3 separate regions of the Homo sapiens genome follow, and regions 1 and 2 are each linked to region 3. Evidence: promoter capture Hi-C in human tissues and cell types (Jung and others, 2019). All regions are on one chromosome and are shown on one strand. Each heading gives the region's core, a stretch centred on a gene start or on the middle of the fragment in contact. The rest is flanking DNA. Distances are from core to core; before and after follow the strand shown. Region 1 overlaps ADD1 (adducin 1). Region 2 overlaps NOP14 (NOP14 nucleolar protein). Region 3 holds the start of MXD4 (MAX dimerization protein 4).

Region 1 (2,700 bases), core at 79-2,578, 610 kb before region 3:
AGAGATGGGTTTTCACCGTGTTAGCCAGGATGGTCTCGATCTCCTGACCTCGTGATCCACCCATGTTGGCCTCCCAAAGTGCTGGGATTACAGGCGTGAGCCACCGCGCCTGGCCAATTTTTGTATTTTTAATGGAGACAGGGTTTCACCGTGATGGCCAGCCTGGTCTCGAACTTCTGACCTCAAGTGATCCACCCACCTCGGCCTCCCAAAGTGCTGGGATTACAAGCTTGAGCCGACGCACCCAGCCTAAGCTAGGTATTTTTTTAATTGTAATTTAAAAATTGCCCCAATATATAAGGACCCTCTAGAAAAGTCACAAGAGTAAAAAGGAGAAATTAACACTTCCTATCCTTTACGACACTGAAGATTTTTCATTTATGATGTCTGATAACATGAACTGAACTGAATTCTTTCAACAACCATATACGTATACTCAAGGCACTGATTTCCTGTGATAAGATCAATGAACTATGCCACTCATACAACAGGGCATAAGACCTGAAGTATTAGAAAAGGAAAGATGACATCTGGTCAGAGAAAAGACTTCTCTTCTCACAGGGCTTTGCAGAATCATGGACACCCTCTTCTTTTGCTCCATCATGTTGAAGTCCTGGCGAAGGTCTGGTGCCATGTTCCTCTCCCTCAAGTACTCTGGGTTGTTCTCATCTACTCGGTCGAAGTACCTCTCCTTGTGAGGGGCTGTGGTCGGGGGTGGTGAGGTCACCACCGCAGCACGAGAATCACCATTCATTGTACAATCTTTCTAGGTTCCTACAGAATCAAAATAAAAGAAATTATTGTTTTCAAATCAATGTCTAACAGTGTTTCATGATGAGCACATGAGCTTGGTAAACACAATCTTCAACAGGAGGATGTAATGACCAACTGACAGTGGAAACCATGACCTGTGAGGCTTCTTTGTGGCCTCAGAGGCACATGGCTGATCAACCACCTCCCACCCTCCCACTAACCAATGCTGTGTTTTGTCCTAGCCATTGTTCCAAAGAGGAGAACAAGACAACAATCTAACAAAGCAATTAAGTCCTCTGACAAATCCAAAAAGAACTAAATATTAAACTTTTGACCACGTGATTCTTTACAGACATGATTTGTTCCACACAGACAAGATCTGCTAAGAACAGCACAGTTTATTCCAAAAGAAATTTGATTTCTGATTTTTTTTCCCATAAGGTACCAGCAGTGGTTTTGCAAAGGATCCCACAAACAGATCAACAGAAGAGAAGCCACTCACACATAACTCACAAAATGGTAAATGTTCCTCCCTAACAGCTCCTTTCTGGTTAAAAGAACAATGGCAGGTACCAGCAATTTGAGGTCAAGATGCTCAGTTTGTTAATAACCTAACATGCCAAGATGGCTCAAATTTAAAATTCTGTGAATATGGCTACTGACATTACATTCTTTTCTCGGGGGGAGGGGAACAGGGTCTTGTTCTGCCACCGAGGCTGGAGGGCAGTGGCCCAGTCACAGCTCACTGCAACCTCAACCTCCCAGGCTCAAGTGATCCTTCCACCTAAGCCTCCCAAGCAGCTGGGACTATCAGCGTGCACCGCCATGCCCGGCGAATTTTTTAAAAATTTTGTAGAGATGGGGGTATCCCTGAGTTGCAGAGGCTGGTCTCAAACTCCTGGCCTCAAGCAATCCTCTCACCTTGGCCTTCCAAAGTGCTGGGATCACAGGCATGAGCCACCACGCCCTGTTAGCTTTCAAATGTGCATATGAACCACCTGGGAATTGAATTAATACACAAATTAAGATTCATTAGGTCTGGAGTGGGGCCTGAAATTCTGCATGTCTCATCAATTCCCAAGTGATACCAATGCTGCTGAACTTGAACCGCACTTTGGATAACAAGCCTATAAAGTAGAGTTTATTATGCAAAAAAGATATTTTTATTGTGGAACCAATAACCAAAGAATCAGTTGAAGAAATTAGTGTTTTTTTTTAAGAAAAAGATCAATTTGATATTTCTGTTCTAAATGTAAAGATAAGATAAAAATATGCTTAAAGTGGCAGTATTTCTTTCTTTTTTTTTTTTTTTGAGACAGTCTCACTCTGTCGCTCATTCTGGAGTGCAGTGGCATGATCTCGGCTCACTGAAACCTCCGCCTCCCAGGTTCAAGTGATTCTCCTGCCTCAGCCTCCCGAGTAGCTTTGATTACAGGCACGTGCCACCACACCCGGGTAATTTTTGTATTTTTAGTAGAGACGGCGTTTCACCATGTTGGCCAGGCTGGTCTCGAACTCCTGACCTCAGGTGATCCGCCCGCCTAGGCCTCTCAAAGTGCTGGGATTATAGGCGTTAGCCACCGCCCCCAGCCACTACTTCGAGAACTTAAAGGCAAAACATGAAAACAATTGGGGGACTAAACATCAACATAGAATAAACGAACTAATGACCTCAGTGGAATCTTTTTTCTCTTTGTTTTTGAGACAGAGCCTTATTCTGCCACCCAGGCTGGAATGCAGTGGTGCAATCATAGCTCACTACAGCCTGGAACTTGTGGGCTCTCAAGCCATCCCACTGCCTCAGCCTCCTGCATAGCTGAGACTACAGGCCCACATCACCACACCTGGCTATTTTTTTTTTAGTTCTTTGGTAGAGATGAGGTCTCACTATGTTGCCCGGGCTGGTCTCAAACTCCTAGGTTCAAGTGATCCTCCTGCCTCAGACTT
Region 2 (2,700 bases), core at 173-2,672, 690 kb before region 3:
TTGAGCCTCATATCTGTAGATAACAACATGAAACAGATAAATTTTGGCCTTAAATAATGTTAACAGAGTTTAAGATTCAGTTCGGGTCTGACTGTCTTGAACCCTATTTATAAGGTTGCAGTCATGACATCAATTACTTGACATTTCTTGTAAGTTAAAGTAGGTCCCATTTCCAGCATCTTCAGAACAAAGGTGTACAAATCTAAAACTGACTCTCAAAGCTTTGTCTTGTCAGTGTGTGAAAGTTAAGGCGTTAAAGCCTGGGGCTGCCTTCTGATATTTGGCTAATCCAGGGGGTAAAAGGCTTAGGAATTAGGGCAGCAAGCATGTGGTGCAGAACCCGCCATCTGCGGCACACCAGGAGGCCCCGCCACTGCTCGGCTTCACGGGCGTGAAGAGAATGGCCAGTTATTTTAACCCCTCTGTGCCTTTGTCTTTGCTCTTTTCATTGTTCAAGACTTCTCGTGGACCCTTAGCTATAAAACGCATTCCCTGGGGAGATCCTAATTCCCCGAGACTGGAGGTAACTGCCTTGGTGTGAGTTGGGCGAGTGGCCTTCCCCTCATTGCCAGGAGGCGCTGTGGCGCAGGTGACTAGAGGGGGCGCCGTGGCGTGCAGGTGACTAGAGGGGGCGCCGTGGCGTGCAGGTGACTAGAGGGGGCGCTGTGGTGCAGGTGACTAGAGGGGGCGCCGTGGCGTGCAGGTGACTAGAGGGGGCGCTGTGGTGCAGGTGACTAGAGGGCGCCGTGGTGCAGGTGACTAGAGGGGGCGCCGTGGCGTGCAGGTGACTAGAGGGGGCGCCGTGGTCCAGGTGACTAGAGGGGGCGCCGTGGCGTGCAGGTGACTAGAGGGGGCGCCGTGGCGTGCAGGTGACTAGAGGGGGCGCTGTGGTGCAGGTGACTAGAGGGCGCCGTGGTGCAGGTGACTAGAGGGGGCGCTGTGGCGTGCAGGTGACTAGAGGGGGCGCCGTGGTCCAGGTGACTAGAGGGGGCGCCGTGGCGTGCAGGTGACTAGAGGGGGCGCCGTGGGGTGCAGGTGACTAGAGGGGGCGCTGTGGCGCAGGTGACTAGAGGGGGCGCCGTGGCGCAGGTGACTAGAGGGAGCGCCGTGGCGTGCAGGTGACTAGAGGGGGCGCCGTGGCGTGGAGGTGACTAGAGGGGGCGCCGTGGCGTGCAGGTGACTAGAGGGGGCGCCGTGGTACAGGTGACTAGAGTCTCCAGGCCCTGCCCAGGGAGGTGGGAGGGACACAGATTGCACCACTGATCCTGGGCGACGCTCCCACCAAGACCCTGGAGTCAGCTTGCTCTGGGTTTGCCAGTCTTCGCTAGAACCAGCACAATCAAAAATAGGTGCTGGGTGTTTCCAGCCACTTGGGTTACGGCCAGTTGGGAGTGTAATGGGTCTGGGTTTTCTCAGAGTGGCTTACCTTGGGTATTTCTCAAGTGCCATTGTGCCTGTGGTCTCAGGCCAGGCTGTTGCGTGTGAGCATTTTTTTCTCAAATGTGGACTTTTCCAGACCACTATGGGGGAAGCACTGGCAGAGTGCTACAGGAAACACTTCCCACGCCAGGGCTGGGCTTCACTGTGGGGTTTTCTGCCTTTTGCCCCCAGCTGAGCTGACTGCTGCCCACTTTGGAGGAGGCGGTGGGCTCCTTCACAAGAAGACTCAACAGGAAGGCGAGGAGCGGGAGAAACCGAAGTCCCGGAAAGAGCTGATTGAAGAGCTCATTGCCAAGTCAAAACAAGAGAAGGTGGGTTAGTGAGTGTTCTTGATCATCTTCTCCACGGTAAGACAGGCTCACCAAAATGTGTTTGAGCTTTTTTTTCCTGTACCTTTTTAGGCTGTGTTTAATATTTTATATGAGTTCAGTAAAAGCATTTATTGTGAGTAGGAATTTTAAAAATCACATAAAGCATATACCTCGGACAGGTTTTGGTTCTTTTGCCTTTTTTTGGTTTATGTTTTGTTTTATTTTGAGACGTAGTCTCTGTTTCCCGGGCTGGAGTACAGTGGCACGATCAAAGCTCACTGTGGCCTCAAACTCCTGGGCTCAAGGATCCAGTGATCCTCCCACCTCAGCTCCCCAAGTAGCTAGTGGGCGCCACCATGCTCAGCTAATTACTTTTTGTAGAGATGGGGATCGTGCTGTGTCGACCAGGCTCAAGCAGTTCTCCCACCTTGGCCTAGTTCTAAAGCACAGGGTGGGCCACTGCACCTGGCGCGGATGGGTTTTTTGTTGTTGCTGGTTTTAGTATCTGACATGTGCCCAAAAAATCACTTTTTTATTCATTTGCAGTGAACTGCTCAGAGCATCTAAATTAATGGTTTATGGCAGGAAAAGATTTCCGTCTGATGAGATTTGGTAGCTTTGCATTTAAAATACTCATTTCTCCTGGCCTCTTTTCTGTGTTGAAACGTTTGGTGCCAACTGAGTGATCACTGTGTGTGTCCTTGGCACTGACATTGGGCCTCTGGGTTGAAGTCCAGTAGTAACGGTATGTGGTGTGTGTCTGTTATTTTTTCCCCAGAGGGAGAGACAAGCTCAACGAGAAGATGCCCTCGAGCTCACGGAGAAGCTAGACCAAGACTGGAAAGAAATTCAGACTCTCCTGTCCCACAAAACTCCCAAGTCAGAGAACAGAGACAAAAAGGAAAAACCCAAGGTGGGAGCCAAGTACTGAAACAAACTCTTCACTCAC
Region 3 (2,700 bases), core at 132-2,631:
GCGGGGCCTGGCCCTTGGCACATCCAGGCCACCAACCTCAAAAATCAAATCAGTGAGATGGGTCGGGCGAGGTGGCTCACACCTGTAATCCCAGAACTTTGGGAGGCCGAGGCGGGCGGATCACGAGGTCAGGAGATCCAGACCATCCATGGTGAAACCCCATCTCTACTAAAAATACAAAAATTAGCTGGGCGTGGTGGCACGCGCCTGTAGTCCCAGCTACTTGGGAGGCTGAGGCAGGGGAATCGCTTGAACCCGGGAGGCGGAGGTTGCAGTGAACTGACATCACGCCACTGCATTCCAGCCTGGGCAACAGAGCCGTCTCAAAAAAAAAAAAAAAAAAAATCTGCGAGAGGGTGGGGGGTGCCGAGGCCAGTCTGGGCCAGCCTTAGGGTCAGGGGTCACTAGGGAGACCCGCCAGCTGGGATTTGATGAAGGGTTCACTCCCGTCCCCACTTAGGGCGTCCTCGGCCAGAGGTGGCCAGCGCCTGCCTCTAGGAACGTCCCTGCCCCTCAGGCCAGACACAGAGCATGCAGCCCCCCACTCCGGGGAGCCTCTCGACTCTGGCCGCACGTCTGTGTCCCTTCCCCAGACCTGGGCCCTCCCTCAGCTCCGGCGTCCACTGGGCGATCTGAGGAGCCCGCCCGCTCTGGGCCTGTTTCCCCACTGACACCCTCAGAGACGCCTGGCTCTTAGGATCAGAGCGTCTGCGTCCCTCTCCGAGGTCCCGGCCCTTCCCGGGGCCACTCTGCGCCCGGCGGGGAGGGGAGTCGTTCACGGCCCCACGCAAGACCCCCGGGCAGAGCGCGAGGCCTCGTCCCCCCACGCAGCCACTGCTTTCGTCGCGCTCAGACCCGGCGGCCCGGCCCGGCCCGGCGCACGCCCCGGAGCGCCCTGCTTCGCTCTCGTAGCGGAGACGCTCCTGCGTCCTAACGGGCCCCCAGGACGGCGGGCGGTCCCCGCGCGCTGCGCTTCCTCTCGGCAACGCGTCCGGCTGCGGCGCCCTCATTGGCCGCGCGCCCCGCCACCGGCCATTGGCTCGCAGTGCCTGTTTTACATAGGCCGCTCTGGCCAATCGGCGCGCGGCGCCTACTTAACATGCACGGCGGCCGCCAGTCAGCTAGCGCGGGGGCCGGGCCACCACGTGCTGTTGCTAAGCTCGGGCTTCTAAATTGTTACTAGCGCGGCCGGCCTATCCCAGCCCAGCTCTGCATCTGTCAACATTCTCGGCCCGGCCCGAGGCGCTCGACCCGTCCCCATTGGCCCCAGCCCGGCCCGGCGCCCGCCCCCGGGGCGCGAACGCCGCCTCCCATTGGCTCTGCGGGCCGCCGCTCTCCCTTATGTGTCAATTTGAGGGCCTGAGGCGGAGGGTGGCGGCCGAGCGCCGGAGTCCGCGGAGTCTGGAAGTGCGGCGGCCGGGCGCGCGGGGTGGGCGGCGAGCGGAGCCGGCCGGAGCGGGCCGGGCAGCGGCCGCCGCCGTCCCGGGGCGGACGGGCGCGGGCGGGAGGATGGAGCTGAACTCCCTGCTGATCCTGCTGGAGGCGGCCGAGTACCTGGAGCGCAGGGATCGAGGTAGCGCTCGCACCCCATTGTGCGCCCGCGGCGGTGGGCGGGCGGCGGGGCCGTGCCGGGCGGGGGCCGCTGACCGCGCCGTGTGTCCGCAGAGGCCGAGCACGGCTACGCCTCGGTGCTGCCCTTCGACGGCGACTTCGCCAGGGAGAAAACAAAGGCGGCCGGCCTGGTGCGCAAGGCCCCGAACAACAGGTACCGCCCCCCGCTCCCGACCCCGCCCGGCCCGGTCCGAACCCCCGCCCCCGCCCGGAGCGTGCTCTCCGGGCCCCGATTCCCGGCCCGCGGCCCTCAGCGCCGCCGCCGCGCGCCCCGGCGGCCAGCCTGGAGGAGGAGGCGCGCAGGCCGCGGCCGCAGCCCCGCCCGGCCGGCCCCGCCCTCGCCGTCGCCATCTTCCCGCGGCCGCGCCTCCCGGGCCGCTCGCGTAAACAGTGCCACGCGTACAGCGCCCGCCGCCGGGGTCCGCTCCCGCGCCCGCTCCCCGCCCCCGAGTTGTTCTGGACTTTTCCAGGCGGTAGAAAAGTTGTCAGCGGGCGCTGGCCGGTGCCCCGTGGGTCTGGGGAAACAGGCTCAGCCAGGGTCTGCGGGGGCTGCCGGCCCTAACCCCTTCTCTCCGCGGGTGGGTGGGCGGCCTCCTTTCGACTGGCTCTGCCAGCCGAACTCTGCTGCTCGGCCACCTTCCCCCGCCCCCAGGAGCCTAGACAGAGAAGCGAGTGGAGGCGCTGTCCTGGGCCCTCACTCCTCCCAGGGTGCCCACCGCTTCTGCCCAGCCTCCTGACACAGCGAAACTCCAGCCACCAGTATGGGGGTCCTCTTTTTTAAGACAGAGGCCTTTTAAGGGGGCGGGAGGAGGGGGCAGGCTGCAGGGCAGGGGCCCCATGAAGTCGTTACTACGGGTGCCAGCTGCGCCCTCCATACCTTGACCTCGTGTTCAGGCAGCAGAAGCCCTGAAGCTGGGGTGCGTACAGGTCCCCCGCGTGGGGAGTGGGGACCCTGGGCCGGGGCTCCCCGGGGATTTCCACCCTCCTGGCTGCTGTGAGGACCATAGCACACCTGGTCCTGTCTGGGCCCACCTTGGCCCAGCCCTTTTGTGTGAGCAGGCTGGGAGCTGCGTTTGTAGGGGGCTTCAG

Evidence for each region. Contacts are between HindIII fragments. The study calls those that stand out against the background at their distance.
Region 1: a fragment that was not itself captured here is called in contact with the fragment with the promoter of MXD4 in region 3 in 1 of the 25 tissues and cell types used here (dorsolateral prefrontal cortex).
Region 2: a contact is called between a fragment that was not itself captured here and the fragment with the promoter of MXD4 in region 3, in 1 of the 25 tissues and cell types used here (spleen).

The regions. Positions count from the first base shown.
Region 1 is chr4:2,873,970-2,876,669 of GRCh38, reverse strand. It overlaps ADD1 (adducin 1), which reads right to left. Exons shown (of 16, transcript NM_001354761.2): 2 at 560-774. The coding sequence starts at 754. Among named protein-coding and RNA genes, the nearest start is that of ADD1, 31 kb to the right of the region's middle. RefSeq lists enhancers at 1,001-1,526, 1,527-2,054. The HindIII fragment of the contact is 5,115 bases long and covers 1-2,700 here.
Region 2 is chr4:2,953,475-2,956,174 of GRCh38, reverse strand. NOP14 (NOP14 nucleolar protein) reads left to right here. Exons shown (of 18, transcript NM_001291978.2): 4 at 1,612-1,751; 5 at 2,530-2,664. Among named protein-coding and RNA genes, the nearest start is that of NOP14, 8.6 kb to the left of the region's middle. The HindIII fragment of the contact is 8,016 bases long and covers 1-2,700 here.
Region 3 is chr4:2,260,790-2,263,489 of GRCh38, reverse strand. It overlaps MXD4 (MAX dimerization protein 4), which reads left to right and starts at 1,381. Exons shown (of 6, transcript NM_006454.3): 1 at 1,381-1,573; 2 at 1,666-1,765. The coding sequence starts at 1,510. RefSeq lists enhancers at 1-368, 369-1,030, 2,262-2,700 and silencers at 662-1,501, 1,552-1,611, 1,702-2,091, 2,102-2,161. The HindIII fragment of the contact is 28,165 bases long and covers 1-2,700 here.